Linked DNA regions of Homo sapiens: region 2 is linked to region 1. The links are contacts of gene promoters, found by promoter capture Hi-C in blood cells and fetal thymus (Javierre and others, 2016). All regions are on one chromosome and are shown on one strand. The core of a region is centred on a gene start or on the middle of the fragment in contact, and the rest is flanking DNA. Distances in the headings are between cores, read along the strand shown. Region 1 holds the start of UQCC3 (ubiquinol-cytochrome c reductase complex assembly factor 3). Region 2 holds the start of BAD (BCL2 associated agonist of cell death).

Evidence for each region. Contacts are between HindIII fragments. The CHiCAGO score rates a contact against its expected background, and 5 or more counts as called.
Region 2: a contact is called between the fragment with the promoter of BAD here and the fragment with the promoter of UQCC3 in region 1, in 1 of 17 cell types (activated CD4 T cells). The highest score is 5.8, in activated CD4 T cells.

Annotation. Positions count from the first base shown.
Region 1 is chr11:62,670,393-62,673,874 of GRCh38, forward strand. It overlaps UQCC3 (ubiquinol-cytochrome c reductase complex assembly factor 3), which reads left to right and starts at 1,281. Exons shown (of 2, transcript NM_001085372.3): 1 at 1,281-1,473; 2 at 1,561-3,294. The coding sequence starts at 1,354. The coding sequence ends at 1,722. LBHD1 (LBH domain containing 1) reads right to left here and starts at 1,875. Exons shown (of 7, transcript NM_024099.5): 1 at 1,172-1,875. RefSeq lists enhancers at 1-706, 707-1,446, 1,447-2,188, 1,555-1,714 and a silencer at 1,955-2,084. The HindIII fragment of the contact is 2,853 bases long and covers 87-2,939 here.
Region 2 is chr11:64,282,978-64,286,459 of GRCh38, forward strand. It overlaps BAD (BCL2 associated agonist of cell death), which reads right to left and starts at 1,688. Exons shown (of 4, transcript NM_032989.3): 1 at 1,654-1,688; 2 at 1,205-1,399. The coding sequence starts at 1,391. It overlaps GPR137 (G protein-coupled receptor 137), which reads left to right and starts at 2,871. Exons shown (of 7, transcript NM_001170880.2): 1 at 2,871-3,482. RefSeq lists silencers at 1,568-1,857, 2,208-2,947. The HindIII fragment of the contact is 5,985 bases long and covers 1-2,223 here.

The DNA.
Region 1 (3,482 bases), core at 31-2,530:
TTACTCTTTGGCAGGAGCTGTTTTAATTGCTTTACATATAACTAATTTAATTATCCTAAAACTGTGAGACAAGTACTGTTGTTATAAGCTTCATTTTCTGATGCAGAAACCGGGGCACAAGAACTTGCCTATAATCAGTCACACAGCTAAGAGGTGTTTTCTTCTGTAAAGCAGAATTCAGTATGTTACACGAATCCAGCCTTTTAGTGGTTGAAAACAAAGCAAAACAGCCGGGCGCGGTGGCTCACACCTGTAATCCCAGCACTTTGGGAGGCCGAGGTGGGCGGATTGGGCGGATCACGAGGTCAGGAGTTCGAGACCAGCCTGACCTACATAGTGAAACTCTTTCTCTACTAAAAATACAAAAAATTAGCCGGCCGTGGTGGCGGGCGCCTGTAGTCCCAGCTACTCGGGAGGCTGAGGCAGGAGAATGGCGTGAACCCGGGAGGCAGAGCTTGCAGTGAGCCGAGATCACGCCACTGCACTCCAGCTGGGCAACAGAGTGAGACTCTGTCTCAAAAAGCAAAAAAGAAAACGAAGCAAAACAAAAAGCAATACCAGCCGGGCGTGGTGGTGCACGCCTGTAATCCCAGCTATCCGGGAGGTTGAGGCAGGAGGATCGCTTGGGCCCTGGAAGTCGAGGCTTCAGTGAGCCATGATCGCGCCACTGCACTCCAGCCCTGGGCGACAGAGCGAGACCTTGTCTCCAAAAACAAACAAAACCACGCCCACACACTAACAACAACAACAAAACCAAAAAAAAACCCAAACAATACCAAGTGTGTACCATGACGAGAAAAGGAATAGGTTGTTTGTAAAATAAATGTTAAAGATAAGTAACTATTACCCATTTCTCCAACCAGTATACTTGACTTTGAGTGTTTGTTCCAGAGTTGAGGGGATGGAGAGGGATGTGTATGTGTGTAGATGCCCTCCATGCGCTGTGTTGAAAACGCGCGGGTGACTGCAGGAAACCACAGAGCACAGCTCGGGCCTCTACTGATCGGGAAACGTCGGAAGACAGAAAAATGGGCAATCATAAAACCCACGGCAACCATGAAGACACGCACTCTCCCCCTAGCAATCCCACCCCGGAATTGAGGACACAGGGTCCCCGCGCTCAGCCCTTGGTGCCAGCACTTCTTGGACACCTCAACCCCCTCAGCTAAACCTGAGATCCAAGCGCTCCGGATTCCAAACGTTTCCTCGAGCAGGTCCTCTCTAGCCGGCCGCTTATCTATGGTTTCTGCTATAGGGCGCTCTAGCCTGCGCCAAGGGGTAGTGAGACCGCGCGGCAACAGCTTGCGGCTGCGGGGAGCTCCCGTGGGCGCTCCGCTGGCTGTGCAGGCGGCCATGGATTCCTTGCGGAAAATGCTGATCTCAGTCGCAATGCTGGGCGCAGGGGCTGGCGTGGGCTACGCGCTCCTCGTTATCGTGACCCCGGGAGAGCGGCGGAAGCAGGAAATGCTAAAGGTAGAAGCAACTGGTAGTCCCGAGGAAGGGTGGGCGGGTGGAGAGCCCCGGACTGGAGCTCCTGCGAACTCCCCTTCCTGCCCTCAGGAGATGCCACTGCAGGACCCAAGGAGCAGGGAGGAGGCGGCCAGGACCCAGCAGCTATTGCTGGCCACTCTGCAGGAGGCAGCGACCACGCAGGAGAACGTGGCCTGGAGGAAGAACTGGATGGTTGGCGGCGAAGGCGGCGCCGGCGGGAGGTCACCGTGAGACCGGACTTGCCTCCGTGGGCGCCGGACCTTGGCTTGGGCGCAGGAATCCGAGGCAGCCTTTCTCCTTCGTGGGCCCAGCGGAGAGTCCGGACCGAGATACCATGCCAGGACTCTCCGGGGTCCTGTGAGCTGCCGTCGGGTGAGCACGTTTCCCCCAAACCCTGGACTGACTGCTTTAAGGTCCGCAAGGCGGGCCAGGGCCGAGACGCGAGTCGGATGTGGTGAACTGAAAGAACCAATAAAATCATGTTCCTCCACCCAGAATGAGCCCTGCAGTCGACACCTACCAATGCTTAGAGACGCGTGGTCGGTGCTGGGGGCGCGGCCTGGAGCTGCTGCCTGTCCCACCCCACCAGAAGAGGCTGATCCCGATAGGTATCTGACCACATTTTTTTTTTTTTTTTTTTTTTGAGACGGAGTCAATGTCACCCAGGCTGGAGTGCAGTGGCACGATCTCGGCTCACTGCAACCTCCGCCCCTGGGTTCCAGCAATTCTCCTGCCTCAGCTTCCCGAGTAGCCGGGATCACAAGTGCGCGCCACCAAGCCCAGCTAACTTTTGTGTTTTTAGTTGAGACAGGGTTCACCATGTTGGCTAGACTGGTCTCGAACTCCAGACCCAGGTGATCCGCCCGCCTCGGCCTCCCAAAGGGCTGGGATTACAGGCGTGAACCACCTCGCCCTGCCGCGGCCACATTTTTTCTTTTTTTTGAGATGGAGTCTTGCTCTTGTCACCCAGGCAGGAGTGCAGTGGCGCAATCTTGGCTCACTGCAACCTCTGCCTCCTGGGTTCAAGCTGTTCTCCTTACTCAGCCTCCCATGTAGCTGGGATTACAGGCGTCCGCAACCACGCCCGGCTGATATTAGTAGTTTTAGTAGAGGCGGGTTTCACCATGTGGCCAGGCTGATCTCGAACTCCTGACCTCAGGCAGTTCACCCGTCTCAGCCTCCCAAAGTGCTGGGATTAGAGGCGTGAGCCACTGCGCCCGGCCAACCACATTTTCAAAACAGGTCATGTGGTGTCAGGTTGGAGTGTACTTCCAGGGATAACCGTGGGACATTCTTGAAATCTGAACTATCCTGGGAAGTCTTGAAGTAATGGATGCCTATAGTGGACACTCAGGACTCCTGTCCTTGGAGCGAGATTGGAGGGGCATCTAGCACTTAACATATGCCACAATGCTTTCTGTGGCCATTATTTAACCTCTGGTTAAACAAGCTTAGGAGGCTGACTTACTAGTAGTAAAAGGAGTGTGCTTTGAGTCACAGATCCTGGTTGAACTCCAGCATGTTACAAACCTCAGCCCTGTTCTATGAAAGGTCATAACTACGAGGATTATTGTAAAACATTAATTTAGAAATGTAAAGTGGTCCCCAATCTCTGGATCTGGTCAGGATTTATTGGAGCTGCCACTGAGGGGATTAAATAAGTGGGGTCAAAGCCCCACAGCCTAGTCAACCAAGTTGCTCCTCTTTTGTCTATCCTGTGGTTCCCAAGCAAGACTGCAATTGAAAAAAAGGCTGCTGTTATTAAAGTCAGAACACCAAATAAAGCTTTTTTTTTTTTTTTGAGACAGAATTTCTGTGTTGTTGCCCACGCTGGAGTGCAATGGAGCGATCTCAACTCAATGCAACCTCCGCCTCCTGGGTTCAAGCGATTCTCCTGCCTCAGCCTCTCCAGTAGCTGGGACTACAGGGGTGCGCCACTATGCCAGGATAATCTTTGTATTTTTAGTAGATACAGGGTTTCACCATGTTGG
Region 2 (3,482 bases), core at 438-2,937, 1.6 Mb after region 1:
CAGAAGTTCCGGGCTGCAGTGAGCTGAGATCGCACCTCTGTACTCCCTCCTGGGTGATAGAGCGAGACCCTGTCTCAAAACAAAACAAAACAAACAGAAAAAAAGAAAGCAAGCTATGGGGTCCAATCTGAGAGAATCGAGTGTGGGTGTTTATCCGTAAGAGAGCGAGGGGAAAGAGGCCTCTTAAGCCTTCTTAATCCTGAAAATGGGGAGGAGGTCTTTTAAGCTGCAGTGCCAGAGTGACATGACCTAGTTTTCTATTTTTAGAGATGGGGTCTGGCTATGTTGCCCAGGCTGGTCTTGAATTCCTGGGCTCAAGCCAGCCTCCTGAGTTGCTGGGACTACAGACATGTGCCACCCCACCCAGCTTGACCTGGTTTTTGTGTTCAGAAGATATCTGTTGTTGTTCCAGGTGCCAAGGCCAGTGCTGGGCACAGGGGTGCTAGAGCCTACTGAGAAATGGACATAGAACCCCAGTGTCCATCCTTCCATCTTGGAGCCTGTGCTTCTCACCCCACACAGCCCTGCTGTCTGGGAGGACTGTCTGCCCCTTGAGGTCATCTGCCCCTGGCCACTGTGCCAGGACAGTCCTGCTGTGGGTACGAGCCACAGGGCAAGAAAGAACACATCTGGGAGCTGGAAGGCCTAATCCCAGGGAAAGCATGTAGCCTGGGGCAGGGCACCAAGGAGGCTTCCAGCCCCCACATTCTAAGGAAAGAAACACCAGGAAGGTGTGGCCTTAGGCAGGCCCCTTTTCCTTTTCGGATCACTGCCTGCCTGTCACTGATTTCTGTCCTAACCCCACACTAATAGCTGCTATATATATATATATGTATTTTAAGAGCTGGAGTCTCCCTAAGTCACTCAGGCTGGCCTTGAACTTCTGGGCTCAAGCGATCCTCCTGCCTTGGCCTCCCAAAGTGCTGAGATTACAGGTGTGAGCCACCACGCCCGGCAGCAACCATTTTTTAGCTTTAATGTGCACCAGCTCTGTAATCAAGTGCATCCTATATGTTCCTGCTAATTAACTCAACAGTCCTACAATGGTGGTTATTAATTGCTGTTTTACGAAAGAGGAAACTGGGGCTCTGAGAGTTTGGGGACCGACCCAAAGCATTCAGTGCCTGTGGATGCAACTGGGATGCAGGGAGCCAGTGGGCTGGGGGTGAGGTGTCCCGGCAGGTGGAGGTGGTGGGGTACTTACCTCCATGATGGCTGCTGCTGGTTGGCTGCTCCTGCTGGTGACTGGCGTCCCACAGGAGGCCTGGGGCCTGGCGATGATGCTTGCCGGAGCCTGAGGGCCCGTCCCCTGCGGGGCTGGGGCCCAGGCCCCTCTCTGCAGAGCTGGAGTCTTCCTGCTCACTCGGCTCAAACTCTGGGATCTGGAACATGCTCTGGGCTGTGAGGACAAGATGTTACGTAGTCAAGGCACAGCTGGGGCCAACGGTGGCCCTGGAAGGCAGAGGCAGGTACCCCTGGCTTCCTCTCCCACCGTAGCGCCCCCAGGCCCGCCAGGCCTCCTGGGCCCTCATCTGTCTGCCGGGTCTGGCCTGGCAGGGAGCTGAGGCTGTCGGCTCAGGACCTCAGTCTCCCCTCAGAACCCCGGTGGACCCAGGCCCCGCCCCGCCCGTGGTGACGGCGCACAGGTCTCACCCCAAGCCCGATCTCGAGGCCCCTGACCCGGGCCTGCCGCCTCCCTCCAGCACCCCGGGCTCCGGGCCCTAGTTGCTTGGGCAACGGGAACTGTCAGCGACCTGGCCCAATCACCTCTCGGAACGTCACTCGGGTAGGTCCAGAGGCGGGGTCAACCCGGCCCGGCCCCGCCCCCCCGCCGGATCCAAGGCTCCTCGTCCGCATCCTTTTTCCTCCCTCCTTCGGCCCCGGGGCTCACATCCTCGCTGCCTCACACCTTGGGCGTGTGTGGGAGCAGGAGAGGGATTCTCTGGGGTCCCCATTTGGAACCTGGAGACCCACTTCTGCCAACAAGTCCTTCAGCCCCTCTGGGCCTTAGTTTCCCCCCAGTGAAGTGGGGATAGTGACAGCTCCCCCGGGAGCCAGTGAAAACTTTGTGAAGGGAGTGATTACTGCGGGCGAAGGCGCTTGGCACAGCCACAACTGAAGCTCAGCCGTCGGATGTGATTATTGTTGCTATTGTTACCGCTCCGCCTGGACTGGGTGCCCGGTCGGAAAGTCCCGCTCCCCGCTCCTCCTCCCAGGCGCGGAAGCTTCGCGCCGCCCGCCTCGGGGGACACCTCCCGCGCCATCTCGGGGGCACTGGAGATAAGGAAAGGAACCTCCTCCCTGGCTGGGATGGCTGCCCGGGCGCGGGAGGAGGGCCGGGGACCCGGTGAGGGAGGACCGTAGGGCCCGTGGGGGCTTCACGCCTGGCAGGCGGCCGGCCAGGTGAGCAGGGCCGCGGGCGCGCCGGGGCGAGGGGCGGGCCCGCGCGGGGGATTCGGGGCTCCGCGGGTTCAGGCCCGGGGGCGGGGCCCGGGGGCCATCTTGGCTATGGGCGGAAGTTTTCTTCAGAGACCGAGGGACGGGAATCCGTTGCCGCCCCCGGCCGGGCGGCACGACCCCGATTTGGGTATAGGAGAGAGGAGCGTGGGAACTGGCGGACCCCCATACAAGTAAAGGCGGGCGGCACGGGGCACGGCCCACCCGGGGACCCCCTGGATGCGGCACGGCCCCCGCAACTCGGCCGCCCTCCTGCCGCCTCCCGTAACCCCGGGCGCCCGCCAGCGGCGCAGCTCGCGCCAATTCTCGTACGGTTTCACGCCGGGTGCGGCGCTGGACTGCGGAGCCAGCCGGGCCGCTGCGCAATTTGCGTAGCGAACGGCGCCCGCGCAGGCGCGGAGGGGGAGGGGGGCGGAGCAGCGGGAGCCGGGGAGCCGGAGCCCCGGGTCCCCACGACCTGAGCCGGCTCTCCCATCAGCGGCCTGAGGACCTGGCGTCCGCCTCCTCCCTCCCCTTGAGGCTGGAGCGTGGACGCGGTGGGGGAGGGTGGGGCGGGGGCAGCTTTCGAGAATTACGAGGACAGGAGGCAGAGGCCCTCCCCATCCGCATTATTGGAGGAGAGAGAGCCTCCCCCAGCTTGGGGAGGGGGAGAGCGGGGCATTGGGCGCCCCTCGCAGCGGCCGCTGCCCTGACCCGACGGGTATCAGCCGGCTCTCCCCCTCCACCCAGGACGACATGAACGACCGAGGCCAGGGAGTCCTCTCCTTGGGCCTCTGCATCCCCCCATCCTTGGCTCTGGGGTAGGCCCAGGGAGGAGACACCCCCAACCCCTATCCGGTCTGTCCTGGAGAAAAGAGACTGCCCTTCCATGCCCCTGAGTGAGGGGCCTGGGGCCCAGGCTGCCTGTGTTCCCCAAGGGCAAGGGTCTCTCTGTTGAGGAGGAGGGGCCTGTCAGCCACAACTTCTTTCCTCCTGAGCGCCCCATCTCCCTCTCTGCACCCTGCAATTCCCACCCCTCCGTATTT